Regions from separate parts of the Homo sapiens genome. Here regions 1, 2, 4 and 5 are each linked to region 3. Evidence: promoter capture Hi-C in human tissues and cell types (Jung and others, 2019). All regions are on one chromosome and are shown on one strand. Each heading gives the region's core, a stretch centred on a gene start or on the middle of the fragment in contact. The rest is flanking DNA. Distances are from core to core; before and after follow the strand shown. Region 1 overlaps OSBP2 (oxysterol binding protein 2). Region 2 overlaps RNF185 (ring finger protein 185). Region 3 holds the start of MORC2 (MORC family CW-type zinc finger 2). Region 4 overlaps OSBP2 (oxysterol binding protein 2). Region 5 overlaps OSBP2 (oxysterol binding protein 2).

Evidence for each region. The method cuts DNA at HindIII sites, captures the fragments that hold promoters and counts their contacts. A contact is called where the count stands out against the background at its distance.
Region 1: a fragment that was not itself captured here is called in contact with the fragment with the promoter of MORC2 in region 3 in 1 of the 25 tissues and cell types used here (thymus).
Region 2: a contact is called between a fragment that was not itself captured here and the fragment with the promoter of MORC2 in region 3, in 2 of the 25 tissues and cell types used here (IMR-90 fibroblasts and lymphoblastoid cells).
Region 4: a fragment that was not itself captured here is called in contact with the fragment with the promoter of MORC2 in region 3 in 2 of the 25 tissues and cell types used here (liver and mesendoderm cells).
Region 5: a contact is called between a fragment that was not itself captured here and the fragment with the promoter of MORC2 in region 3, in 1 of the 25 tissues and cell types used here (dorsolateral prefrontal cortex).

What each region holds. Positions count from the first base shown.
Region 1 is chr22:30,729,684-30,735,427 of GRCh38, forward strand. The region is part of intron 1 of OSBP2 (oxysterol binding protein 2); the gene reads left to right. It overlaps MIR3200 (microRNA 3200), which reads left to right and starts at 1,874; the gene lies at 1,874-1,958. The HindIII fragment of the contact is 9,479 bases long and covers 1-5,744 here.
Region 2 is chr22:31,185,216-31,191,283 of GRCh38, forward strand. It overlaps RNF185 (ring finger protein 185), which reads left to right. Exons shown (of 7, transcript NM_152267.4): 2 at 1,832-2,055. The coding sequence starts at 1,880. Among named protein-coding and RNA genes, the nearest start is that of LIMK2, 24 kb to the right of the region's middle. The HindIII fragment of the contact is 6,585 bases long and covers 1-5,232 here.
Region 3 is chr22:30,967,524-30,973,629 of GRCh38, forward strand. It overlaps MORC2 (MORC family CW-type zinc finger 2), which reads right to left and starts at 1,251. Exons shown (of 26, transcript NM_001303256.3): 1 at 299-1,251. The coding sequence starts at 366. It overlaps TUG1 (taurine up-regulated 1), which reads left to right and starts at 1,742. Exons shown (of 3, transcript NM_001396518.1): 1 at 1,742-4,256; 2 at 5,332-6,064. The coding sequence starts at 1,834. The coding sequence ends at 2,295. RefSeq lists an enhancer at 1,653-1,982 and a silencer at 2,013-2,262. The HindIII fragment of the contact is 8,152 bases long and covers 1-5,291 here.
Region 4 is chr22:30,759,905-30,765,491 of GRCh38, forward strand. The region is part of intron 2 of OSBP2 (oxysterol binding protein 2); the gene reads left to right. Among named protein-coding and RNA genes, the nearest start is that of MIR3200, 31 kb to the left of the region's middle. RefSeq lists a silencer at 4,026-4,075. The HindIII fragment of the contact is 5,000 bases long and covers 1-4,334 here.
Region 5 is chr22:30,789,758-30,795,515 of GRCh38, forward strand. All of the region lies in intron 2 of OSBP2 (oxysterol binding protein 2), which reads left to right. Among named protein-coding and RNA genes, the nearest start is that of MIR3200, 61 kb to the left of the region's middle. The HindIII fragment of the contact is 4,158 bases long and covers 729-4,886 here.

The DNA of each region.
Region 1 (5,744 bases), core at 2,025-4,524, 240 kb before region 3:
TATACACAACAGGGAGATAGCCTTAAAAAGGTAGGAAATCAGCTGGTCATGGTGGCTAATGCCTGTAATCCCAGTACTTTGAGAGGCCGAGGCAGGTGGATCACAAGGTCAGGAGTTTGAGACCAGCCTGGCACACATAGTGAAACCCTGTCTCTACTAAAAATACAAAAATTAGCCAGGCTCTCGTGGACTTCAGCTCTTGTGGACTTCAACACGTTGATTATGGGTTTCTAGCCTCCAGAAGTGTGAGATAATAAATTTCTGGGTTTTTTTGTTTTTTGGGGTTTTTTTTTGAGATGGAGTCTCCCTCTGTCACCCAGGCTGGAGTGCAGTGGCACAATCTCGCTCGGCTCACTGCAACCTCTGCCTCCCAGGTTCAAGCGATTCTCGTGTCTCAGCCTTCCAAGTAGCTGGGACTACAGGCGCATGCCACCATGCCTGACTAATTTTTGTATTTTTAGTAGAGACGGGATTTCACCATGTTTCCCAGGCTAGTCTCAAACTCCTGACTTCAAGTGATTTGACGACCTCGGCCTCCCGAAGTCCTGGGATTACAGGCGCGAGCCACCGCACCCAGCCTGGAGTTTGCTTTTAAAGCCAATTTTTATAAAGTATAAAAGTATAACATACATGCAGAAAAACTGGTCAATTACGAGGATGTAGCTAGTGAATTTTCATGGAGTGAGCACCTCCCTTATTTTGAATTTATTTCCCCCCACTTATTGTTAACAAACAGTGGCTTGTCATTTACAGGCCTGTGTCCTTCCCAAGCTAGACCATTGAGGCCAGAAAGATGTGTCGTATTTATTTTTGTATCTACTCCCTCCCCAGTTTCTAGCACAGTTCCTTTATATAGTAGCCCACAGGAAGTGCTTGCTGAATTAGAATGCAGAAGGTTGGATGGGAATTTCACAGTGAATCAGGGTCACCTTGAGCTTGCATTGAATGGAAGTTCCATATAAGACTAAGTACTTTGCTCCAGAGTGGTAGCTTTTGGTCTTTCTGTGCATCTGGATTCAGATTCGCTGCCCTGTCTCTCTCTCTCTCTCTCTCTCTCTCTCTCTCTCTCTCTCTCTCTCTCTCTCTCTCTCTATATATATATATATATATATATATATATATATAATTTTTTTTTTTTTTCCCATGGACATTTTTGGGGAAGGGCTTCTGGAAAACATAGCCCAAGGCAGGGATTAAAGAGCTAATGCTGGCCGGGCGCGGTGCCTCACGCCTGTAATCCCAGCACTTTGGGTGGCCGAGGCAGGTGGATCACGAGGTCAGGAGATCGAGACCATCCTGACTAACACTGTGAAACCCTGTCTTTACTAAAGATGCAAAAAATTAGCCAGGCGTGGTGGCGGGCGCCTATAGTCCCAGCTACTCGGGAGGCTGAGGGAGGAGAATCGCTTGAACCCAGGAGGTGGAGGTTGCAGTGAGCCGAGATCGCGCCACTGCACTCCAGCCTGGGCGGCAGAGTGAGACTCCATCTCAAATAAATAAATAAATAAATGAAAAATAAAGAGCTGACACTTTGGGAGGTGCAATCCCAGGGCAGTGAAGGAGCAATGGCAAGTGGCAGAGGAGAGATCAAAGTGACCACCCAGCTCATTCCCTTGCTGGATGAGACTTCACAGCGAGCTACAGAGACACGGTGGGTCGCTCAGCAAGCATGCTTGCCTGGCACATGGACTTTTCCAGAACTTACACAAGAAGAAAATACACCTCAGAGCCATCCGTGGAGGGAAGAGTGGGGGGAGATTCATCTGACCTGTTCTTTTCATATCCTATTTTCCACGGTGGCATTTCATACAAGCCCAGAAGTGGAGGTACGGCGTGACCTGGATGAGGCATCATCGAGAGAGACAAAGAAGGAGGTGGTCGAGGGAATCTGAGAAGGCGCACAAGGTTTGTGTCCAATACAGTCCACACCTTGCGCTACTCAGGTCTGCTCGTGCCCTCCCATGATATCAGCTCTCCTACTTCAATGTGGGAATCTCCGTTTTCCTTGGAGAACAAAAACATCCTCATTCCTTCCCTGAGCAGGAAGGTACAAATCCCATCAGTGACAGAAGCCATTTCCTGGTGCTGGCCCACTGGGGTTACCAGGAAGAATAAAGCAAGAAGGTTGTGAAACAAGGTCATCTGCTGCTGCTGTGGCCGGTCCTGGTGTGCTCATTGTTACTCATCATTTCCCTCCTGCACTACCCACCCTAGACCCTCTCCACTCTCCGCCAGCACTCTGGCTGGTCTGTGATGTTTGCGCTGAGTGGTCTGCATGTGTTGTTGGCCTTGCTCATTATCAGCCGTTACCAATCATGGAAATGTTAAGAGATACCGGTGCTAGGCACAGTGGCTCATGCCTGTAATCCCAGCACTTTGGGAGGCCAAGGTGGAAAGATCACCTGAGGTCAGGGGTTCAAGACCAGCCTCACTAACATGGTGAAACCCCATCTCTACTAAAAATACAAAAATTAGCTGGGCGTGGTGACGGGTGCCTATAGTCCCAGCTACTCGGGAGGCTGAGACAGGAGAATCACTTGAACCTGGGAGGCGGAGGTTGCAGAAAGCCGAGATAGCGCCATTGCACTCCAGCCTGGGCAACAAGAGTGAAACTCTGTCTCAAAAAATAAATAAATAAATAAAAATAAGAGATATCCCAAGGAGTCCTCTGGGTTTTATTCCAGACATTCTCCTCCCATTTCCAAATGGGCCACTCACCTAATTCCTCATGGCAATTAGGATCAGTGACCCCTGGCGGTAGAGTCACTCCCCTGGCAGTAGAGTCACTCCCCTGGCAGTAGAGTCACTCCCCTCTTTGTTGGTCACTGGCATGAGGAGCCGTAGGTGGCCAAGTGGTTGTGGCAGTGTCCAGATCAGTGGAATCTTTGTTTCACATTCCTCCCTTACCCCAGGACTAGATCCTCTAACCCAGCTGATCCCAAGTGTGTGAGGATGGGAAGCACACACCTTGCAAAGGGCAACCATGCGTGATGGTGAGCAGGGCCACTCCTGGACCTGTCTGCTGTAGCTGTGGGGGACATGGCACCAGATATCAGTTGTCAGCTCAAGGCATCCTGGAGGACAGAGGCTCAAACCTGAGGGGTATTTCTCCCTCGGTGTCCCCGCTAAGCCAGTAGGCCATTCCATTGTTTTGTCAGGCTCGCTGCCCCCTAGTGCAGCTGGGTTCCTGTGATTCCAGTGAATTTATGGCCAGGAGTCACTGGCACAGCTGCTAGGCTGAAATGGGCCACTTTGTATAAGGCTGTATCGAATGGAAGTCCAGGCCAGCACACGAGGCATTCAGTAACTTTGGACCATGGTGCTGCTGGAGGCACTACAGGCAGGGAAGGCAACCTCATTACCAAAAAGCACTTCCGTTTCATGAAGGATAAATTGTGTATCCCTCCAAGGTGGAAGGGGTCTGATATAGTTAGTGGCTGTCTGGCTCTTCCCAAGGATGGGCCATATCAAGGAGGGTTCCGTGTTGGTTTCTACTGCTGGTAGATCGGGCACTCAGTGGAGCCGCGAGATGAGCCTTGGTGCTGGGGAGGCAAAAGAGGAAGGAAAGCAAGGGGAGGATGCAAAGTAACATGAGGCTTCAAGACCTCGCCACTGCTTTGCAGCAAACTGTAAGGCTCACAGAGGCCACTCATGTTCTCTGGGCTCATGGACTTCTCTGGAAGGTTTGCAAAGATACCTTGGAGAGATCTGCAGGGGGGATAAATGAAGAGCATTTCCTGGCCTGGTTTCCATCCACTTCCCATTTCCCACTGCTCATTGTTTAACCTGTGAGTCACTAACCCTTCCATACTGTGGGTTGCAAAAATCCAGCTTGTCGGTGACCACTCAGGAAACCAGATTGCATACTCTGAGATGCAGTACTACTCCCAAGCCCAAAAATGCAGGGGCGACTTGGCTTAAATGGAGGAGAGAGAGAGGGGACGGAGGAGGTGCACCATTCTTAGTTGATGTACAAGGTTTGGGTCCAATACAACTATGTAAGTCGCTAACCATAGATGGTCTCCATGGCCTAAAAAGCAATGCATTAACTACTACAGGCTTCCAAGTTCTGATTGCTGGAATCCTTGACAGAGGTGAGAGTGTGACTGGGGTCATTGCGAGTATTATTTTGTTGAGAATCGGTGTAGTTAACTTAGTGGGATGTTGGTTGTGGTAAATTCTCTTGCAGTTAAATTGTACTGCAGATGTTTAGTATTTTGTTTATATTTGTTCTAAATCAGATATCAAAGTAATGCCTCAAAACATGTCTCCTTAAAAGTGGCAGAAAATACATTATCATTTTTTTTTTGAGACGGAGTTTAGCTCTGTCACCCAGGCTAGAGTGCAGTGGTGTGATCTCCATTCACTGCAACCATCACCTCTTGGGTTCAAACGACTCTCCTGCCTCAGCCTCCTGAGTAGCTGGGATTACAGACATGCACCACCAGGCCCATTTAATTTTTGTATTTTTAGTAGAGACGGGGTTTCACCATGTTGGCCAGGCTGGTCTCGAACTCCTGGCCTCAAGTGATCTGCCTGCCTCAGTGCTGGGATTATAGGCATGAGCCATCATGCCTGGCCACATTATCATGTATTTTGGATATGAGCCCTGATGAAACTGGGAGGCCTTAGATCATGGCTGGTAGTGAGGCCACTGAAGCTGCTTAGGGCTCAGTGAGACCAGATGGTTCTGGAATATTGCACACCTCCATAGCCTCTTGCGGGAGAGGAGTTACCACTGCAGCTTGCAGGGCCCAGGTCTATAGTGTACTGTGAGCAGGGCTTTAACTTTGCCACTGTCTGGACTATTGGACTTCCCTGGAAGCTTAACCTTCATAGAGAGGGTTACCTCAGCCAGGACTCACAGTGGGAGAAACAAAATCATTTATTTACAACATGAGCAGGTGCACTACTCCTAAACAACAATCTGGATTTTAGGATACATCCCTAAATTTTAGACCCTTTCAGGACTGAGTTTGAAGCCATTGAAAAATTTTTAAAACTGAATAAAAAAGGTAAAAATAATACCTTGGCTACAGGTTAAAAATGGATTGAACATAAAATATCTAAATGAAAGAGAAGAGCAGAGCTAAATTCTAAGACTAGCAAATGTATCAGATCTTGATAATTTTAAGGGTTGTTAGCCCCCACATTTATATATTTCACTGTATAATTCCTTCCAAATAATGTAGAAAGATAAAACTGAAAAGTTAAAGTAAGAGGCTGGGTGTGGTTGGTGGCTCATGCCTATAATCCTAGCACTTTGGAAAGCCAAGGTGGGAGGATAACTTGAGCTCAGGAGTTCAAGACCAGCCTAGGCAACATAGTGAGACCTTGTCTCTACCAAAAACAAAAAAAAATTAGCTGGCATGGTGGCACATGCCTATGGTCCCAGTTACTTGGGAGGCTGAGACAGGAGGATTGTTTGAGCGCAGGAGTTCAAGGCTGCAGTGAGCTATGATTGCACCATTGCACTCCAGCCTGGGCAACAGAGTGAGACTCTATTTCAAAAATAAAATAAAACCCTTAATAAAAAGTAACACTAACTAGAATGAGTAAAGGATCAATTTAGATTTGGATGCTGGGTGACTAGAAAAACTAATCTGCTATATTTTCATTTTCTGAAGTGCTCATGTTACTTATTCATATCTACCTGCTCTTGTTTCATTTTTATCAACTTCTATTTCATTAAATTGTTTCTTCTTCTTTTTTCTTCTCTTCTCTCTCTTTTTTTTTTTTTTTTT
Region 2 (6,068 bases), core at 690-3,189, 220 kb after region 3:
AATGATGTAACTGAGTGAAAAAGTGGTGAGCTGGCCTCCTCTCTCTGCTCAAGTCACTGAGCTGGTATCGTGGTGAGGGATACTCATGAGGCCAGAGCTCTGAGTCCACCGTGTGAAGGCAGGAAGCTTTCTGGGTCTGAGAAGGCTGTAACTTTTTTGGTCCTTGTCTTCTCATACTCTGGAAGCTGACATCAGGGTGACCTTCTGGTGTTCCAGTGGTAAGTCCTAAATTTGTGAAGGGGCCGCTTGTTTTGGAGGTAACAGTAGGTTAAGATGACCTGGAGAGGCACAGTCTAAGAGCTGGAGGGGGCCACCCAGGACACCAGGGAGTCCAGTGCCTCATTTTACAGATGAGAAAATTATGATCAGTAGAGGGAAAGGGAGGTTCCCAGAACCACCTAGCAAGCTAGAGGCTGAGTCCAGTATCCAGGCCTCCACTTCTCTGACTGTGGTAGCCAGCGAACATTTCCTACTTGGAATTTCTGAGGTGATGAGGGTGGCCAGATAAGGCTCCTGACAGATTGTTAATGTGCATCCAGAATTCCTGGGTATCCCTTGGTGTTGGTTTTATCCTCTTTCTTGTTCAACTCCTGGCTGGGTTCTTTGACTTGGAGGTGGTGGTCAACAGTGGTCTGTTTATACCAGCATTTAGTGGCCAGTTTAGTATGTAGTGGTACGGTGCAAACAGGGTGTCCATGAGTCCCAGTCTCAGCCCCACATTAGTCAGCTAGCCAAGGTAACTGCAGTTTCCTAAAGAAATTGGACCAGATCAAGATTGTCCAAAACATAGTATGAGTGTGCCAGGTGATGTCAGGTGGTATGAGGGTAAACTTTTCATTTGTTACTTTTATATTAACCTTTTTACTTATGGTAAGTATTACTGGTTTTCCATTTATTACAGTGACATAAACCTCTTCTTTAAATGTACTGAGGCTAAAAAGTTGATATATTTAGATAAAATAAGGTGAATAGTATTCCAATGTGGCAGAAGGAGGATTGAAAAAGATTGCAATATGGAAGACCTTGGACCAGATGATCTTTCTGGTCCTTATTAGCTTCCTATCCTTTCATAGTTACAGGAATTTCTTAATATTCTGGCGTATGGGCTGGGCACAGTGGCTCACACCTGTAATCCTAGCACTTTGGGAAACTGAGGCAGGTGGATCACCTGAGGTCAGGAGTTCAAGACCAGCCTGGCCAACATGATGAAACCCCATCTCTACTAAAAATACAAAAATTAGCCAGGTGTGGTGGCAGGCACCTGTAATCCCAGCTACTCGGGAGGCTGAGGCAGGAGAATCACTTGAACCTGGGAGGCAGAGGTTGCAGTGAGCCAAGATTGTGCCACTGCACTCCAGCCTGGGCGACAGAGTGAAACTCCATCTCTTAAAAATATATATATATGTTCTGGCATATGACAATCACAACCTTCCTGCCTCAGCAGATTCACCCATCAATATAGAGGCTGGACAGCCTGAACATTCCATTTAATGTAGCATGTATTTGTCACCTGGGTTGATTGTCATGGGGGAATCTAAAGACAAGTGAGACAAGGTCCTGGTTCCTGTGGAGAACCATCTGGAGGCTGCTCTGTATTTGGTGGAGTTTGCGTATCTGTGTGATATATTCTGGACCATATTCATGAGAAGTTTCTGGGTCACTGCCCTTTGGGTAGTGCCCTACAACTCTTGTCTTCTGTAGCGCTTTGGGAAGTCTGCTCAGGGATTCAGTCATAATCAGCTCTGGAGCCTAGAGAAGACAGGAATGTTGGCATGGAAGCTGGGGGGAGAGGGCTGCAGAAATGGACAGTCAAGAGTTCTCTGCCTTTTAGGATTTCCCTGGGGAAAGTCTTCACTCAGAGCTTCGCTGACAGCCAAGGATGGCAAGCAAGGGGCCCTCGGCCTCTGCATCTCCTGAGAACTCCAGTGCAGGGGGGCCCAGTGGGAGCAGCAATGGCGCTGGCGAGAGCGGAGGGCAGGACAGCACTTTCGAGTGCAACATCTGCTTGGACACAGCCAAGGATGCCGTCATCAGCCTGTGTGGCCACCTCTTCTGGTCAGTACCCCTACTTCCACCCCAGAGAGCACATTGCCAAGTTTGGAAAGCCTGTGGCCCTGGGTGGTTTGGAGCAGAATGCTTCCTGCTCACTTTGGGAATACACTCAGGCTCAAGGGACAAGAGACCTGAGTTCCCATCCCAGCTCTGCTACCAATGAGCTGGATGACCTTGGGCAAATCCTGTCTCCACTCTAAGCTCGTTCTCCCCATCTCTAAAGTAATAATACTTACCATTTAGTGAGCACTTACTACCTGCTACTTGCTGTGCTGAGCCTAGAGGCAGTATAGCATAATGGTTATAAGCAAGGACTGTGGAACTGGGCTTCCTCCTTTTGAAGCTTGACTCTGCCACCTTCCTGTTTGACCTTGGACAAGGTACTTACACACATTCTGCCTCATTTTACAGGGTCGTTTGCAAGCATTAAATGACTCAAAATATGTAAAAGGCTTAGAAGAGCACATAGCTTGCAGTAAATACTATGTGTTAGCTATGACTATAATTGTTACTATATTTTATGTTTATATATAGATAGATACACTCATCAAAATGAAGTGTCAAGGTCGGTGTCTGTTCCAGCCTTGACGGTTACAGGAGCCCTTTCTGGCTCTGAGAACCTAGGTGCTAGGTGAAGGTCGGATTTTGGTTTTTTGTGTGTGTGTGTGTGTTTTTTTTTGTCTTGAGATTTTGAGCTGAACCTTGAAAGGTCGATCAAAAAATGCTAGGTAAAGGCGAAGGGTGTGTGTGTCACTCCAAGGCAGGGAGTTTCTAGGGACAGGCACATGCACTGTTGGACTCATCTGAGACCCTTGAGGCTACTGTATACCTCTCACAGCACTCTGGATGAGGGTCTGGGAGTGTTAGGAAAAATAATGGTTACAGTAGTGTTGAGCCAGATTATCAAACCCAGATTCGACTAAAGGGACATAGAGGTAATGAATATTTTTGAGCAGAGAAATCGTGTGAAGAAAAGGCCGTTTAAACAATATTTAAGGGATTTTAAGTTGGCAACAGCGTAAAACATCAATTTATTGGTGAATAAATAGAATGGAGCAGAGATTTTTGTTCTTGAGGCTCTTGCCCTAATTACCATCTTGTGTAAAAGCTGTTGTGATCCACATTCTCCTAGAAATTCAGGATACTTCAGGGTATCGTAAAACCAGGACTTGAAATGATTGACAAAATTAAGAATTCAAAGACAGGATACCCCTGATTTGATTATGTGAATGTATCAAATTATCACATATAACATAAAAAATGTGTACAGCTATTATGGCTGGGCTCAGTGGCTCACACCTGTAATCCAAACACTTTGAGAGGCCATGGTGGGAGGATCACTTGAGCCCAGGAGTGCAAGATGAGTCTGGGCAACATAGTGAGGCCCCACTATGTTTAAAACTAGTCAGGCATGGTGGCGGTACCTGTAGTCCTAGCTACTCGGGAGACTGAGGTGGGAGGAAGGCTTGAGCCCAGGAATTCGAGGCTACAGTGAGCTATGATTGTATCACTGCACTCCAGTCTAGGCGACAGAGAGAGACCCTGTCTCTTAAAAATATATATATATTCTGGGCTGGGCGCGGTGGCTCACGCCTGTAATCCCAGCACTTTGGGAGGCCAAGGTGGGCGGATCACAAGGTCAGGAGATCGAGACCATCCTGGCTAACACGGTGAAACCCGTTTCTACTAAAAAAAAAAAAAAAAAAAAATTAGCCGGGTGTGGTGGAGTGCACCTGTAGTCCCAGCTGCTGGGGAGGCTGAGGCAGGAGAATGGCGTGAACCCGGGAGGCAGAGCTTGCAGCGAGCTGAGATCGCGCCACTGCACTCCAGCCTGGGTGATGGAGCAAGACTCTGTCTCAAAAAAAAAATGTGTGTGTGTGTGTGTGTGTGTGTGTGTTTGTGTTTGTGTATGTATTTATTAAATTTTATAATTATAAATTTTAAGATTATAAATTATGTATTTTATGTATATATTAACTATACATATATTTAAATGTACAGCTGTTGTATATCTTTTTTTTTTTTTTTTTTTTTTTTTTTGTGGAGACAGCCTTGCTCTCTTGCCCAGGCTGGAGTACAGTGGTGCAGTCTTGGCTCACTTGCAACCTCTGCCTCCTGGGCTCAAGTGGTTCTCCTGTCTCAGCCTCCCAAGTAGCTGGGACTGCAGGAATGCACCACCACGCCCGGCTAATTTTCTTTTTGTATTTTTAGTAGAGATGGGGCTTCGCCATGCTGGCCAAGCTGGTTTCAAACTCCTCACCTCAAGTGATCTGCCCACCCCGACCTCCCAAAGTGCTAGGATTACAGGCGTGAGCCACCATGCCTGGCCCTGTGTCAAATTTTTTTTTTTTTTTTTAGAGACGAAGTCTTGCTTTGTCACCAGGCTGGAGTGCAGTGGCACAATCTCGGCTCACTGCAATCTCTGCCTCCCAAGTTCAAGCAATTCTCCTGCCTCAGCCTCCCGGGTAGCTGGGATTACAGGTGCACCCAGCTAATTTTTGTATTTTTAGTAGAGAGAGGTTTTCACCATGTTGGCCAGGATGGTCTCGATCTTCTGACCTCGTTATCTGCCCGCCTCGGCCTCCCATAGTGCTGGGATTACTGGTGTGAGCCACCATGCCTGCTATCAATTTTTTTTTTAAAGGCAGAATGCCATTGGAAAGAACACAGACTCTAAAATGAAACAGATGCTTCCAGTCTGGATGGTGCATCCCTGAGCAAATCTGCTAGCTTCCCTGTACTTTGGTTTCCTCATCTGTAAGATGGAGATGATGGTACTGCCTCATAGGTTAATGTGACCGTCCAGTGACATTAAGAAATGAAAAGGTATTCAGCCACAGCGTGGCACACAGTACAGTCATGCAGTACATAATGACATTTTGGTCAACAATGGATTACATATCCAACAGCGGTTCCATAAGATGATGATGGACCTGAAAAGTTCCTATAATCTAGTGATTTTAAAATGTTATAGAGCAGTGCGTTACCTTTTCTGTGTTAGGTATGTTGGATTTTTTGTTTGTTTGTTTGTTGTTTTTTTGAGGAGTCTCACTCTGTTGCCCAGGCTGGAGTGCAGTGGCGTGATCTTGGCTCACTGCAACCTCTGCCTCCCAGGTTCAAACGATTCTCCTGCTTCAGCCTCCCGAGAAGCTGGGATTACACATACGTGCCACCACACCTGACTAATTTTTGTATTTTTAGTAGAGACGGGGTTTTACCATGTTGGCCAGGCTGGTCTTGAACTCCTGATCTCAGGTGATCCAACCGCCTCAGCCTTCCAAAGTGCTGGGATTACAGGCGTGAGCCACCACGCCCAGCCTGGTTTTTGGTTTTTTTTGAGATGGAGTCTCACTGCGTCACCCATGCTGGAGTGCAGTAGCACTCCAGATTGAGTAGCACGATCTCAGCTCACTGCAACCTCCACCTCCCAGGTTCAAGTGATTCTCGTGCTTCAGCCTCCTATGTAGCTGGGATTACAGGCATGTGCCACCACACATGGCTAGTTTTTGTATTTTTAATAGAGATGGGGTTTCACCATGTTGGCCAGGCTGGTCTCGAACTCCTGACCTCAAATAATCTGCCCACCTCAGCTCCCAAAGTGCTGGGATTACAGGCATGAGCCACCACACCTTGGCTCTATGTTAGGTATGTTTAAATACACAAATATTTACCACTCTGTTACAGTTACCTATGATACTCACATGCTATTCAGGTTTGTAGCTTAGGAGCAATAGGCTATACTATGTAGCCTAGGTGTGTAGTAAGCTATTTCAGCTAGGTTTGTGTAAGTACACTCTGTGATGCTCACAATGATGAAATTGCCTAATGACACATTTCTCAGAATTATCCCTGTCGTTCAGTGATACATGACTATCGTTGCTTAATAAATGGGAGGAATGGTCGTTGTTATAAAGCCTGACTTTCCCCTGAGGGTCATTCATTCACCTCCACTTCTCCCCTAGAGTCTTTAAGGGAACTTGCCAGTGGAGATCTGCCATGATTTGGGGTTATTCTCC
Region 3 (6,106 bases), core at 1-2,500:
TGTTGGATTCCTATAAACACTTGAATGAAACAACTCAACATATTGACTTCAAATAACTAAAGTTTGCATTTAGAAAATTTTGATCCAATAAACAAAAATCAGATTCTTCTGGATTAGCAACAAGTATTTCACTGATCTCAGTTCTTCAATACAGAGCTCAAGATATCCAGTGACACATTTCACTCCAGTGGGATACATCTCAAAAAGTGAAAAAGCAAAATTTTCTGGGGAAACGATTTCCATATAATATCAAGGAACGAGTTACTGGTTACCTCAGTGGCACCTAGAGGATACTTACGAATTTGTGTGCAGATATTCAAAGGTTAGCTGAGCTCGATTCAGACTGCTGTAATTTGTGAAAGCCATGACTGCAATAAGGTCTCCAGCCCTTCACCCGCTAACTGGGAAATATAACCTTATAATGATATCGATTTCCCAGGATTCTGTCCAGTAAAGCTTCAGTAAGTCTGTGCTCCTTAATGACAGTTAAAGTAACCTAGTAGCTATCCAAAATATATGCAGAGATGTTTAAAACTACAATTTCTTCAAGTGTTTTTTTTTAATCTTCTCAATGATTTATGATGTAATATTTTGGAAGGAACTATGTCATAAATCTGTAGCTTTAAGGAGCTTTTAGCATTAAGTTGCGATAGCTCAATTCAGACAATCTGAGTCTCGTGTGGATGGTCCTGAAGGAGATGGTCCTTGAGTGGGTGGTTTATGACTGCTCCATCTTCATGTTCTTCCAGCCTTTTTTGGTTCCCCGAAATTTCCTGTCAGGAAATTTACCAACGCGGAAATTTACCCACTTCTGTCAGAAAACTGATCAGCCATGTCTTCGCCACACGTGATGCCAGGATTCTTAAACAGGCCCAAGACCGGAGACCAAGATGTCGACGGAGTGTTATATGGCGCAAGTTGCAGCTTCACCACCTCCCAAGTGAAAAAGCTCCTAGGCACTCACGATTTCTTTTTTCAAAGCCGGACCAAACCCAGTTCAGGGTGGTGGTCAGATTACCTCACACTTGGCCCACATAAACACCTCACAAATGACCCGCCCACAGCACCTCGGGCAGGCCGCGCCCCGCCCCCACGTCCCTCAGACAACAGCCTCAGCCTCCCAGGCCCTTCCCGGGCCTCGGTCCCGTGGCCGCCTCCCCACGAAGAGGAGCTACTCCCGGCTTCCAAGGACCGGATCGAGGGCAGTGGCGAGCGCACCACCTGACCGGGCACTACCCGGATCTCACAACTGCCTTTGTCCCTCCCCGCGGAATTGGAACCCAACAGCCGCAGAGCGCTCTTGGAACCATGTGCTGCTGCCGCCTCCGCCGCCGCCGCCGCTGCCTCCGCCGCCGCCCGCGCGCCGCCCGCGCGCCGCGCTAGTTGAGATGGTGACAGGATTCAGCAACACGAAATTCGGCGTTTAGAGCTGCTCTGCCGCCGCCGTCACAGACACCACAGCCACCGCTTTGTCTCCGATAGTGCACACAGCCCCGGCCACCTCGCACACTCCCCGACGCCCCAAGCCCCCGAGGCCTCCGCGGAGCATTCAGCCAATCACAAAGCTGCAGCTCCTCCCGCCCCCGCCCTGATGTACAGCCTCCTGATTGGCGGGCTGCGTGTCCCCATGTGACCGGATCTTGGTTGGCCGGTCCCGCCCCTGTCACGTGACAGCGTGCGCCTCTCTTCCTGCTTTCCTGACCCTCTCCGCCATTTAAAGAAACAGTACCGGGGGCGGGCCGAGCGACGCAGCCGGGACGGTAGCTGCGGTGCGGACCGGAGGAGCCATCTTGTCTCGTCGCCGGGGAGTCAGGCCCCTAAATCGAAGAAGCCCTGGCGCGCCCTCCCCCCCTCCCGGGTCTGGTAGGGCGAAGGAACGGGCGTGCGGTCGATCGAGCGATCGGTTGGCGGCTCTTTCTCCTGCTCTGGCATCCAGCTCTTGGGGCGCAGGCCCGGCCGCCGCGGCGCGCGCCCGGTGGCCGTTGGCGCTCGCGCCGCGTCTTTCTTCTCGTACGCAGAACTCGGGCGGCGGCCTATGCGTTTGCGATTCGACGAGGAGTCGTCCGGGTGGTCGGCGGCGGCGGGCAGCTGCTCCGCCCCGCTCCGGGGGAGGCGGCGGCGGCAGCGGCCGCGGGATTTGGAGCGGCCGGGGAGGCGGGGGTGGCCGGGGCCGGCTTGGAGGCCTGGCGCCACCCTTCGGGGCCTGCAAGGACCCAGTTGGGGGGGCAGGAGGGGGCCGGAGGATGGTTGGTTGTGGGATTTCTACTTTGCCTTTTCCTCCTTATGCCGCCTTAGTGAGGGGCGGGAGCTCTGGCGGCAGCCCCGGGGTGGGGAGACGAGCTCCGGAGTCGGAAGAGCTGGGTTTTCTTCCGGGCCTAGCCACCAGTTGGCGGAGTGACCTTAGGCGAGTCACTCTGTAATTTGTCTGCGCCTCAGTTTCCTCCTCTGCCTATCAATGTGTGTGGGGTTGAAATCGCTTTGTAAACTATAAAGCGTGGGTGTACGTAAAGGATGGTTATTGTTTATAATTTTTTTTGAGTTGTAAGAAAACTTAGCAGTTCCCCAATCCTTGGGTTTTGAACCTGGGAACCTTGGATTGGAGTTGGGGATCCCCAAACTTCCTGAAATTGTGGGAATGTGCGGTTTGGGGGAATGATGGGAATTTGTGGGAATGTGCGTTTTAGGGGAATGATGATCCATCGCTAGCAAGTTTTCCAAGGGGGCTGTGACCCAGAAGAGTTAAGAATCACAATTTCTTCATGCTACAGAGAGGAAACTGAGGCCTAGATGTCATTTGGGACCCTTCACAACCATTTTGAAGCCCTGTTTGAGTCCCTGGGATATGTGAGCTGTTTCTATGCATAATGGATATTCGGGGTTAACAACAGTCCCCTGCTTGGCTTCTATTCTGAATCCTTTTCTTTCACCATGGGGTGCCTGAAGGGTGGCTGATGCATATGGTACAATGGCACCCAGTGTAAAGCAGCTACAATTAGGAGTGGATGTGTTCTGTAGCATCCTATTTAAATAAGCCTATTTTATCCTTTGGCCCGTCAACTCTGTTATCTGCTGCTTGTACTGGTGCCTGTACTTTTCTGACTCTCATTGACCATATTCCACGACCATGGTTGTCATCCATTACTTGATCCTACTTTACATGTCTAGGCTGTGTGGTTGGTGGTGAATAGGCTTCTTTTTACATGGTGCTGCCAGCCCAGCTAATTAATGGTGCACGTGGACTTTTAGCAAGCGGGCTCACTGGAAGAGACTGAACCTGGCATGGAATTCCTGAAGATGTTTGGGGTTTTTTTCTTTCTTAATCGAAAGTTAACATTGTCTGAAAAGTTTTGTTAGAACTACTGCGGAACCTCAAAATCAGTAGATTTGGAAGTGATTCAAAGCTAAACTTTTTCCTTGGCCCTCCTTGTGTTCTAATTGCTTGCAAGTGTAATACTAGGATGTCCAAGATGCCAGTTTTTGCTTCTTTGTTAGTTGTCAGCTGCTTTTATCAAATTTCAGGCCATTATCCAACAAACACTATAAAAATGTTTGAACAATTGGATTTCAAACATTTTCGTTTTGTGGAGTGGTGCTCACCAAGTGGTACAGCCCTAAGCAAGTGAACACAAACACATTTAAGTGTATTTTGTCTGATTAGATGTTAGCCAGTTATGCTATTTCATTCAAATGTCTGAAAAAATCAATTGACTATTCCCTTTTCCTAAAGGGCAGAGACAGATAATCTCACTTCCAGAGAAATGACTTGGAGAAAAAAAAGTGTTGGTCTTTTTGCTCTTTTGTAATTAAATCCGGATGTACCTCAAAAGACTTAAGACTGTGGTGATAAGATGCTTTCCTCAGCAGAAAGGAGGGAAAAAAAACAACTGGAACTCAAAGCTTGAAATTCTGTGGCAAAACATGAGATGTCCAGGATTGGAGGTTGAAAAGATTTCACTACAGTGTTCTGCAATAGTTGGAGCAGATAACTTTCAGTGTAGCCACAGCCATGGACTCCAGATTTCCAGATTTTCAAGACCTGGACCTGGAACCCGAAAGAGCTTGTCACGATGCGGCAGGAACACTGGAGGTAGATTTTTTTTTATTTTTGAATTTTGGGACTGTTGACCTTGCTGTGAGAAAAGAGACAACGACTGAGCAAGCACTACCACCAGCACTGTTACTGGGAATTAGAAGACCTGAGTTTCTGTCCAGACCCTCAGTGCAAACTGAGGATGCTCCATCCAAAGTGAATTATGGTACTTGCCATTTTCCAAAATGCCTTATCCTTTACCATCTCTGCACTTTTGTTCATACTCTCATTCTACTTTGGAACTGCTGCTCTGTGGCTTTTCATCTGTCAAAACTGCCATTTTCTCAGTATCCAACTCTTATGCCCTCTTTTCCATGAGTCTCCTAACTAGCCAGAATAGAGCTTTAAAGTTTTATGACATTTCGTTATGTATCCTCTATCTGTATACAAAATCCTGTAAAATAGTTACTTGCCTGCATTTACTGTCTTTGCAGATAGCAGACTCCTTGAAAGCAGGGTCCTTGTTTAGTGCATCTTTGCCCACATACACCACAACATATCAAGATGCATTTATTAGGAAGGAGGAGTTTAGAGAGCAGGCTATCAGAATAACCACTCAGTAAGTGTTTTCTTAATTGCTATGTGATAACTTACATTACTCTTAATGAGGAGAAAAGTCGCTAGATATGGATCATGTTTATGTTTTAATGTTTTTTAATTCTAAATTTTGATCTAGGGAGCCCTCAGACATAAGGAGAAACCAATATGTTGAATGATGGGGTATTACATACAGAAGGACCAAGACCTTATTTTCTCCTACTTAAGATGGAATCTTGTTAAGATGAAAGGACAGCTTTTTAAAAGGAGAAGGTCATAAGACAGTTTGAGGAAGGCATTGGAAGAGGAAGAGGGGCAATGTCTCCTTTGTTTTATTGTTGGTATATAAACTTAAAATCTCAGTTCTTTTTATGGCACTTGTGGAGCCACTTCCTCTCCTCACCAAAAAATGCCCAGTACCCTGAATCCGATCAAATTACTCTCCTAAAGTATAAGGCTTAGTTTCTGTGTGCTGCTTCGCGAGACAGTTCCCACAAATCGAGAGTGTTAATCAGACTTTTGTGTTTTCTTTTTTGGATTGCTGTTGTTTGTTTTCATTTATCATTTGTCTTTGCCTAAGCCAGGCTCATCAAGAATTAACAGCCATCAGGCTGCCGATGTGCTGACAGCAGACCCACTTAGAGTCCTGTGTTTGTAATTCCATGCATTTGTTATTTTACCTGTTTTGTCCCTGCCCCTTCTAGTCCTGTGCCTCCTGATTGCTGAGTGTTCACCTGGACCTTCTGACTACCTTCCCTGTGCTATTCCATCAGCCTACAGACCTGGTACCTGGATTTTTGCCCGAGATGATTCCTACCACCTTACTACTGACGAAGACACCCATTCCAGTGGACCACTGTGACCCAGGAGGCATTCAGCCATCATGATGTGGCCTTTACCTCCACTCCTGTCTTGTTCTACCCAGATTCAGCACAGCCCTTTATAGTGAAGTCAGAGTCCTCAAGCCAAATAGCTAAAGCTGTTTTATCACAACAAAGGCCTAGTTTGTTCCATGAGTGTGCATTTCATTTCTTCAGTTAAAGCCTTCAGAGACACACAATAAATTTGGACCAGGGGATTTTTTAGTTATTAATGCTCTCTGAAGAAAGGCAACATCTTTTTGAGAGCAGCATTGGACCACACCCCACAATCTCAAATGATTGAAATTCATGAACATCTAGGATCCCGTGAAGGTCACTGGACCCTGTTTTTTCTACTTCAAATCCTGTAGTAGCCTACTGAATGAGAAAACATATTCTGACCCATTGGGATCAAATCAAAGGCACAGTGAACTCCTCATAGCATCTTCTTTGGAATTACTCAGGAACCAGAACTTTTTACACAAATGTAAGAAATTCTACCAAGGAGTCCCCTTACCTAACAGCATCTCACAAGGCTGCACCAGATTCCAGAAAAGGCTTCTCTTGATACATCAAGGTAGAACCTCTATGGTAAATCCCTCTGTTTATAATGCACTTT
Region 4 (5,587 bases), core at 585-3,084, 210 kb before region 3:
GCTGGAGTGTGCAGTGGTGCAGTCTTGGCTCACTGCAACCTCTGCCTCCCAGGTTCAAGCAGTTCTCCTCCCTCAGCCTCCTTAGTAGCTGGGATTACAGGCATGTGCCACCACGCCCAGCTAATTTTTTTTTTTGTATTTTTAGTAGAGACAGGGTTTCACCATGTTGGCCAGGGTCATCCTGAACTACTGACATCAGGTGATCCGCCTGCCTTGGTCTCCCAAAGTGCTGGGATTACAGGCGTGAGCCACTGCACCCGGCTTTTTTTTTTTTTTTGAGACAGAGTCTTGCACTGTTGCCCAGGCTGGTCTCAAACTCCTGACCTCAAGTGATCTGCTCGCCTTGGCCTCCCAAAGTGCTAGGATTACAGGAGTGAGTAATTTCTAACTCATTTATAAGGACAGCATACCCTGATACCAAACTGAACAAAGATAGTGTAAGAAAAGAAAACTTCGGACCAATATTTCTCATGAGCATAGATGAAAACATCTTCAACAAAATATTAACAATTTGAAACCAGCAATACAATAGAATATTACACCATGATCAAGTGGATTTCATGCTAGGAGTGCAAGATGAGTGCAAGATAGGTGCAAGATAGGTTCCATGTTTGAAAATCAATAAATGGGGCTGGGGGCAGTGGCTCACACCTGTAATCCCAGCACTTTGGAAGGCCAATGCAGGCAGATCACTTGAAGTCAGGAGTTCAAGAGCAGCTTGGCCAACATGGTGAAACCCTGTCTCTACTGAAAATACAAAAATTAGCCAGGCATGGTGGTGCACACCTGTAGTCTCAGCTACTTAGGAGGCTGAGTCAGGAGAATCGCTTGAACCCTGGCAGGGCGGAGGTTGCAGTGAGTGGAGATCGCACCACTGCACCCCAGCCTGGGCAACAGAGCAAGACTCTGTCTCAAAAAAAGAAAAAAAAAAGAAAATCAATATAAATGGAATCATAATATTAACAATCTAAGAAAAACTACATTATAATATCAATTGATACAGAAAAAGGCATTTGACAAAATTTAACATTATTCATGGTAAAAACTCTCAGCAAACTAGGAGACTCCTCCACCTGATTAAGGGCATCTTCAAGAAACTGACATCATATGTAGTGATAGAAGACTGAATGCTTTACTTTCCGCCTAGGATCAGTAAAGTCAAGGATGTCCATGCTCACCCCTCATATTCATCCTAATACTAGCCAGTATTATAATGCAAGAAAAAAGAAGTCAAAGGCACTCAGATTGGGAAGAAAGAAACAGAGCTATCCCTATTTGCAAGCGACATGATGGCTGTGTAGAAAAATCCCAGGAAATCTACAAAAATATTTTTAGAGTGAGTTTAACAAGGTCACAGAATACAAGGTCAGTACATAAAGGCCAGTCATATTTCTGTGTATTAGCAATGAACAATTGGTAACAAAAAATTTTTAAAAATCACTTACAATGACCCCATGAAATACTTAGATATAATTATAACAAAACAAATATAGTATCTATATGTAAATAGTGTTAAATACTGATGAAATAGAAGACCAAAATAAATGGAGAGACATACAATGCTCATGGATCAGAAGATTCAAGAGAGTAAAGACGTCAGTTTTCCCTTGACTGATCAGTAGCTTGAATGCAATTCCAAAAAAAATCCCAGCAGGACATTTTCTCAGCATAGACAAACTTATTATACATTTATATGAAAAGATAAAGAAATTAGACTAGCTAAAGCAACTTTGAAAAAGAAGAATAAAGGTGGAGTAATTACTCAATTTTAAGACTTATCATAAAGAAACAAGACAGTGTGATGTTGGCAAACACTATATAGATTAATGAGATAGACATATACATTAATGGAACAGAATGGAGAGTCCAGAAATGGGCCCAGACAAATATGGTCAGATGGCTTTTGACAGAGGTGCAGAAACAATTTAATTGAGAAAGGTTAGTCTTTTCAACAAGTAGTGTTGGAACAATTGGACATCCATATGCAATAAAATGAATCTTGATTTATACTTCTTATTTATATAAAATTTAACTCAAAATGTAAACCATACAACTATAATACTCCCAGCAGTTTGGGAGGCCGAGGCGGGTGGATCACTTGAGCCCAGGAGTTCGAGACCAGCCTGGGCGATATGGCGAAACTCCATCTCTACCCAAAATAGAAATATTAGCCAGGCATAGTGGTGTGCAACTGTAGTCTCAGCTATTTGGAGGCTGAGTCAGGAGAGAATCATTTGAACCTGGGAAGCAGAGGTTTCAGTGAACCGAGATTACACTACTGCACTCCAGCCTGGGTGACAGAGTGAGACTCCATCTCAAAAAATAAAAAATAAAAAATAAAATAAAAATAAAATGCAATTTTGGGCCGGGCGCGGTGGCTCACGCCTGTAATCTCAGCACTTTGGGAGGCCAAGGCGGGTGGACCACGAGGTCAGGAGATCGAGACATCCTGGCTAACACGGTGTAACCCTGTCTCCACTGAAAATACAAAAAATTAGCCGGGCGTGGTGGCGGGCGCCTGTAGTCCCAGCTACTCGGGAGGCTGAGGCAGGGGGTGAACCCAGGAGGCAGAGCTTGCAGTGAGCTGAGATTGCACCACTGCACTCCAGCCTGGGCAACAGAGCAAGACTCCGTCTCCAAAAAAAAAAAATGCAATTTTGATTTATGTCTCTTCTCTGGCTCCTCTTGCGCTCTAGACCCATCCAGCTTCTGCTGTCTTCACTGGCACACCATCTTGCTGCCAGCCAGCGTGAATGCTGTACCTCTTGTTGGCAAGGTCTGTTCCCTAGTATCCAGCCCCTTCCCACACCCTATTTTCCTCAAGTCTGTTTACCCTCCAGGGAGAGGCCATTCAGGAAAGCCTTCTCTGAGCCAGCCTCCTGCCTGGGCCAGATGTTTGCTCCCAGGTGTTTGCTCCTTGGCTCAGCCCCTCGAGCATGGTAGCGTAGCAGTTAGTCTGAGCATGGGCTTCCTAGAGCCTCAGAGTCCCCGCTTGTCAGTCCCCTAGAAGCTTCAATTCTGTGCTTCCCAGGGTCCCTTCAATCAAAGATTTCTAAGTCAGTGGAAGCAGAGATGCTGGAGCCAGCCTGCCTGGGTTCAAATCGTGGCTCCCACACTTACCCACTGTGTGACCTTGGACAAGTTGCTTGCCGTCTTTTGCATCATTTCTCTCCTTTGTAAAATGGGTTTCATGATAGAACCAACTCTTAGAGGTGCTGTGAGGATTAGTTTAGATAATGTGTGAAGAGATCTTGGCACACGGCTTGGCAAACACTCGACTAAAGTAAGCTGCAGTTATTGATAGTCACTTTCGCAGCTTTAAAATAATACAGGTTCCCAAGAAGTCCCCTGCCCTGCTAAAACAGAATGAGAATGACTTTTGGGTGCAGAGGGTATTTGTATTTTTTTTCAAAAGCTCCTTGAGTGGGATTGGCAGATTCAAAATATACAAACACAGGTTGGCCGGGTGCAGTGGCTTACGCCTGTAATCCCAACACTTTGGGAGGCTGAAGTGGACAGATCACTTGAGGTCAGAAGTTCAAGACCAGCCTGGCCAACATGGTGAAACCTGTTTCTACTGAAAATACAAAAATTATCCAGGTGTGGTGGTGCATGCCTCTAATCCCAGCTACTTGGGAGGCTGAGGCAGGAGAATTGCTTGAACCCAGGAGGTGGAGGTTGCAGTGAGCCGAGATTGAGCCACTGCTCTCCAGCCTGGGCAACAGAGTGACAGAAAAAAAAAAAAAAACCCACAGGTCACCCAGTTTAATTTGAGCTTCAAATACAAAACGAATAATATTTTAGTATAAGGATGTCTCATGCAATATTTGGGCAGTCTATATACTAAAATTTATTTATTGTGTGTCTGAAATTCAAATGTAACTGGGCATCCTGCATTTTATCTACGAGCATTTAACCCTATCCTGGGGGACCTTGACCCCCAGCCCACTTGGGGTCTCTGCTCCCAACTCCCTGGTCCAAAGGCAAACCTCCAAGTCAGAAAAGAGATAGTATCCTTTTACTTGACACAGGGGGGCGCTAGAAGATGGCTTGTTCGCTTTCTTTTCTGTAACTCAGTGTCTAGGGAAGCACCAGCAGGTTGGCTGGCTTGCAACAAATCTCTCCGTACCTGTGAGTCATTTTCTGATGTTCAGGTTTGTAAGAAACCGATACAGAGCTGGCCACCTCCCTCTTGGGCCTTCACTTCTGGGGGGCTAGCCTAGCGCCTCAGGGGCTCCCCGGTTCTCGCCTCCCCTAGGCTCGCCTACCCTCCATTGATGTCATAACTCTATTCTGATATCACAGCCCAGCACTTGGAATTATCCCAGGCAGCCCAGGCTCTGCCCTTAGAGCAACTAGAGCAGGCAGTAGAGTGGGGTGGGCGGGGATGAGGAGGGGGTTGGGTGGCTGGTGGCCCTAGAGGCTGGCCCTAAAGAATACCTGGACAGCCTGCCACCCTATTGCTCCAAAATGAAAATCCTCTAACAGGTAGGACTTGGAAGAATTTCCTCCTGTTCCTGTTGGGTGTGATCCCACTGAGGTGGAAATAAATTCCCAGGGAGTGTGGCGTTGTTCTGGCTCTGTAAACAGCTCTCGGGAACCCTGCTGCCTGTGTGCCTGGGGATGCAAGTGGGCTTGGTCCACTTAACAGTCCTCTCTTCCCGTTTGAAGGAATGACTTCACAAAGCACAGTGTTTCTTACTTGTTGGGGGAGACATTCCTTAGGGCTTGGAGAATGCCTGCAGATACTGATCCAGGTTCTTCTGTGGCCACTGCCTCTGTCCTCACTCCCTAAGAAGATGGATGGGAACAGGGTTATGCTCTCCTTAGAACAAAGGGAAAATATAGGTGCATTCAAGCTATTGACCCTCAGACCCCTCAGTCCTGAGGAGGAGAGAAGCCCCATCCTCCCAGCTGGCCAGACAGTATAAAGAACTCTCTTATGAACTCACTTGAGTGAAAATTTGACTGGTATGGATTAAACAACACAAGAAAAGAAAACTGAATAACTTCTCTCTTACTTTGAGGGACATGAAGTCTTCCTGGGGGAGCATGTTAAAACTGCAGATTCCTAGGGCAGGACCACTGAGATTCAGATCCGATGGTCATATGGCACCTAGGGACCCCCATTTTAATTTTTATTTGTTTTAATTTAATTTAAATTTTTTTTATAGAGACAGGGCCTCACCGTGTTGCCCATGCTGGTCTCAAACTGCTGGGCTCAGGCAATTTTCCTGCCTCGGCCTCCCAAAGTGCTGGATTACAGGTGTGAGACACCCGGCCCTCCCCCATTTTTATTTTTTATTTTTATTTATTTATTTTTGAAATGGAGTCTTGCTCTGTTGCCCAGGCTGGAGTGCAGTGGTACGATCTCAGCTCACTGCAACCTCCACCTCCCGGGTTCAGACGATTCTCCTGCCTCAGCCTCCCCAGTAGCTGGGATTACAGGCTTGTGCCACCATGCCTGGCTAATTTTTGTGTTTTTAGTAGAGATGGGTTTCACCATGTTGTCCAGGCTGGTCTTGAACTCCTGACCTCAAGTGATCTGCCCACCTCCGCCTCCCAAACTGCTAGAATTACAGGCGTG
Region 5 (5,758 bases), core at 1,558-4,057, 180 kb before region 3:
GACAGACTTCAATTCCAGCCCCAAGAGCACAGGCAGGGAGAAATGCTCTCTAAGAAGGAGGGTCTGCCCTTGAGATTCTTTGTCTGCAACAGCTTTGCATCTTCCACCAGTAAAAACTTTGTTCCCATTTTAGATCACAGTTTAATTTTATTTTGTGCCATGCTCTTTGAGGGTAAGAGGAATGTGAATCTCGGTGAAAACATGTGTTGTTTCTTGTGTACCCCTCTATACATGTGACAATGGCTATCATCTGAAAGAAGCAATGTGCAAGGGGAGAGGGTGACCCCATCTCCGTGCTACAAGGTGACTGGGCTGCAGAAGGAGGATGCAGCCCCTTGGGTCAGCAGATGGGTTTTGTTGGAGTGGCCCATTGGGTGTGGGTGTCTTGGGCTGGAGGTGATGTGGATGACGCACAGGGCTTATTCTTTGTGCCCTCTCAAGCTTCACCTTTGGCCCTGGCCTACAGGGATTCCGGGTTCAGGAAAGACTTTGAATCTGCAGCCACATGAAAATACATGGCACTGCTGTGGACCCACTTTTTAAGGAGGGGGGGGCGGGGAAAGCATAGAAAAGATTTGACAGCTTGAAACTACATCAGCCAGTTTGTAGAGGTTTTGGCCACTCTTCTAGTTTCCATACACATGATCCGTGATGGATTTGGAGGGGCATGGGAAAGAGGACAAAGCCAGAGGCTCCTCATTAGTCTTGGGAATTCAAGGAGACTTCAGTTTGGTAGCTGCACTTGGAGAGATTGTGTGTGTGCGCACACACATGTGGTTGCTCCAAGGCAGTTTCTACTGCTGCTTGCTCATGTGTCTGTAGCTTCCAGGCAGTTTTTCAGCAAGACTGTAAGCCAGATGCAAAAGCAAACCTGAAGAGATATGTCAAACTGCATTAAAAAAAAAAAAAAAAAGAGGGAGCATACTTTATAGGTTAAAGGAAATTTTTTTGATATGTGGTAATTTACTGAGAATCCACTGACAAATGTGGTTAAGGGTCATTTCAGGACCAATAAGCTTTTGGATGAACAATTTAAAAATCCGTTAAGGGATATTCCTTCCCGTATCTCTATGTTTGCTTCATCGAATCACGTGGTTGCCCTGAAGGGGAAATAGGATTCATTTGTTGGTTTTTAAATTCCTTGCTTGGAAGGATTTGGACAGTCAAGGCCAATGTGATCCCTGTTTCAAACTTCTCTTTTTATTTTTCTTTCATTTTTTATTTATTTATTTATTTTTGAGACAGAGTTTCTCTCTTGTTTTGTCACCCAGGCTGGAGTGCAGTGGTGTGATCTCGGCTCACGGCAACTTCCGCCTCCTGGGTTCAAATGATTCTCCTGCCTCAGCCTCCCAAGTAGCTGAGTGCCCACCACCATGCCCAGCTAATTTTGTATTTTTAGAAGAGACGGGGTTTCACCATGTTGGCCATGATCTTGAACTCCTGACCTCATGTGATCCACCCGCCTAGGCCTCCCACACTGTTGGGATTACAGGTGTGAGCCACCATGCCCAGCCAACACATCTCTTTTTCAGGCTGCAGGAGCTTATATATTGGGGGATTCTTCTTTTTTTTTTTTTTTTTTTTTTTTTGACAGAGTCTGGCTCTGTCATCCAGGCTGGAGTGCAGTTGTGTGATCTCGGCTCACTGCAACCTCCACCTCCCAGGTTCAAGCGATTCTTGTGCCTCAGCTTCCCGAGTAGCTGGGATTACAGGCGTGTGCCCCCAAACCTGGCTAATTTTTGTGTTTTTAGTAGAGACACAGTTTCACCATGTTGGCCAGGCTGGTCTCAAACTCCTGACCTGAAGTGATCCGCCCGCCTCGGCCTCCCAAAGTGCTGGGATTACAGGCGAGAGCCACCGTGCCCCGCTCATATTGGGGCATTCTAAATAAAATCAGTCCTGTCTCTTTAATGTATCCGTGCCACAGTTTTGTGAAATACATTGTCAATCTTAATTCTGCTTTGCGGATAGAGAAAAATGAATTGTTGAATGGAAGAGTGTCTTAGCTAGGAAGAGCTGCAAGATAGGAAGGTCATCATCATCTCTCAGGGCTAGACCCAGGCCAGTGGGGATTTCAGGAGCCTTTATAATAAATGGTTTAAGAACCCTCTTATTCTGCCCCCACATCAGTGGGTATACAGATTATTATCACTCAATGGGTATATAGATAAGTATTACCAAATATATAGAGTCAGAGAGATTATGATAAAATATCATAATCAAAACAGGAAAAAACAAAGTATTTAGGAACCGCATACAGAAGTTTCAATCAGGCCAGGTGCAGTGGCTCATGCCTGTAATCCCAGCACTTTGGGAGGCTGAGATGGGTGGATCACTGGAGGTCAGGAGTTCAAGATCAGCCTAGCCAACATGGTGAAACCCCGTTTCTACTAAAAATACGAAACATTAGCCAGGTGTGGTGGCACATGCCTGTAATCCCACCTACTCAGGAGGCTAAGGCAGGAGAATTGCTTGAACTCGGGAGGTGGAGCTTGCAGTGAATTGAGATCGCACCACTGCACTCCAGCCTGGGCGACAGAGCGAGACTCTACTGTCTCAAAAAAAAAAAAAGAATTATCAATCACTATGGTTTGCATGATAAGAAATAGTTTATGAATACAAGTATTTTTTTCATCCACCATCTGCAGTATTGTTTACAGAAGAAACTGAGGTTATAAACCTTCCTGTAAATGCTTCCTGCAGACATCTACTTACAGGCCCACGGGTAAAAAGTTTGCATTTATACTTTTTAATGAATAGTCTCTTTAGGGTTTAATTAGTCATTGTGTCTATGCATGAATCATTCATAATCTGGTCTTGCCACCAGCATATGGCAATTAAAGTCAGATGAATAGAAGTAATATTCTCAAGCAAAATGAACTGTACTCTTCGGCCAATTATCATTGGTTGGCAACATGTTTTATAGAGATAAAAGTTGATTGGCAGCTCTTACAAGTTTTGGTTTGTCTTGTCTCTTCGGGAGAAAGTGAACCCTATGAAAAGCACAAGCCTCCGGTCTTCCACACCAGCACTGTGAGGGCCACAGTCTCTCATATTCCCCAGCCAGCCTAACACTGGGGAGGTGGTCTGAGCTCATGTGAGTAATGTTAATAATCACCACTATGTGTGCCTACTGTGTGCCTGGCATGTTTACATGCATTATGGGTCATCTTCCAAGTGACTTGTCCACAATCACTGAGTTAGTAAATGGCAGAGCCTGGATTTTAATCCAAGACTATCTGATTCCAGGTTTTCTGCTCCATCCAGTCCACCACATTGTCTCAAAACTGAAGATAAGAGTAAATTAGATTGTAGTTCAGCTAAAAGGTTGACTTGAAAAAGGATTTAGGAGCCGGGTGCGGTGGCTCACGCCTGTAATCCCAACACTTTGGGAGGCTAAGGTGGGCGGATCACTTGAGGTCAGGAGTTCAAGACCAGCCTGGTCAACATGGTGAAAACCCATCTCTACTAAAAATACAAAAACTAGCCAGGTGTGGTGGCAGGTGCCTGTAATCCCAGCTACTCAGGAGGCTGAGGCAGGAGAATCACTTGAACTCAGGAGGTGGAGGTTGCAGTGAGCTGAGATCACACCACTGCACTCCAGCCTGGGAAAAAAGAGGATTTAGGTCTGGGTACACTGGTTCACACCAGTAATCCCAGCACTTTGGGAGGCTGAGGCTGGACGATTGCTTGAGGACAGGAGTTCAAGACCAACCTGGGTAACAAACATCTCTACAAAAAAACTAGGCTGTGCACGGTGACTCATGCCTGTAATCCCAACACTTTGGGAGGCCAAGGTGGGAGGATCACTTGAGCTTACCAGTTCAAGACCAGCCTGGGCAACATGACAAAACCCCATCTCTGCAAAAAAATACAAAAATTAACTAGGCATGGTGGTATGCTCCTATAGTCCCAGAGCCAGACCTTGTCTCAAAAAATAAAAAAATAAAAAATTAGACCCACGTGGTGGTGCACACCTATAGTCCTAGTCATTTGGGAGGCTGAGCCCAGGAGTTTGAGGCTGCAGTGAGCTATGGTTGCACCACTGCATTCCAGTCTGGACTACAGAGTAAGACCCTATCTCTAAGAAAAAGTGGTCTAAGTTGTACACCCATGTTCATACAGCATTATTCACAGTAGCCCAAAGGTGGATGCAACCCAAGTGTTCATTTATGATGAATGGATAAACAAAATGTGGTACATCCATACACTGGAATATTATTCAGCTTTTAAAAGGAAGGAAATTCTGACACATGCCATAACATGGACATCCTTCTATCTCATTTTTAAAATTATTAAGCAAGCACTTAAAAATTACTTCAAGCCAGGCATGGTGGCTCACGCCTATAATCCAAGCACTTTGGGAGGCCAAGGCAGGAAGATCACTTGAGCCCAGGAGTTCAAGACCAGCCTGGGCAACATAGTGAGACCTGGTCTCTAAAAAAAATGTTTTTTAATAATTTAAAAAATAAATAAAATTATCTTATTCTCTCCTCCTCTATTCATTTTTTTTTTTTTTTTTGAGACGGAGTCTCACTCTGTCGCCTAGGCTGGGGTGCAGTGGCACGATCTCGACTCATTGCAACCTCCGCCTCCCGGTGGGTTCCAGTGATTCTCCTGCCTCAGCCTCCTGAGTAGCTGAGATGACAGGCGCCCGACATCATGTCCGACTAATTTTTATATTTTTAGTAGAGACAGGGTTTCACCATGTTGGTCAGGCTGGTCTTGAACTCCTGACCTCGAGTGATCCGCCCGCCTCAGCCTCCCAAAGTGCTGGGATTACAGGCGTGAGCCACCACGCCCACCCTGTACCTTCTTTTTTTAATGAAGGAGATTATAATATGAATATTTGATATATTATAATCTACTTTAAGTTATTAATTTGCTACTTCCCAGACAATTTAAGAAGCTAACAACAGTTAAATATCTTCCAGGAGGCTGAGGTGGAAGGATCACCTAAACCCGGGAGGTGGAAGTTGCAGTGAGCCGAGATTGCATCACTGCACTCCAGCCTGGGCAACACAGTGAGACCGTCTCAAAAAAAAAAAATTCCCGTTACTTTTCGTATTATTGTTATTTTATGTTTTATTCATACATGTATACATTCCACAAAGCATAATTGTTATTGTTTTAAGCAATCAATATTTATATAACTACTTTTTTTTTTTTTTGAGACAGAGTCTCGCTCTGTCACCCAGGCTGGAGTGCAGTGGCGCAATCTCTGCTCACTGCAACCTCCACCTCCCAGTTCAAGTGATTCCCCTGCCTCAGCCTCCCAAGTAGCTGGGACTACAGGTACACACCACTGCACCCAGGTGATGTTTTAAATTTTTTTGTAGAGATGGGATCTCATCGTCTTCCCAGGCTGGTCTTGAGCACCTGAGCTCAAGTAATCCTCCTGCCTCAGCCTCCCAAAGTGCTGGGGTTACAGGTGTAAGCCACTGGGCCTGACCTAAGATTTTCTATCTTTGGTCTTCAGGGCTTTGACTATGATGTGTATAGGTAAGATTTTGTTTTGTTTCTCCTTTTTGGGTCTCATTGAGCTTCTTGAATCTGTGGGTTAATGTCTTTCACCATATTTGGGAAAAATTCATCACCTTTATTTCGTCCAAAACTGCTTCTGAACCTGTTCTCTCTTCTCTCTTCCTCTTATGGGACACAAATTACATGTATATTAGACTTTTTGAACCACATGTCTTTATGCACTCTTCTATCTTTTCCATTCTTTTTATCCATTCTGCCGTTAAACCTATCCAAT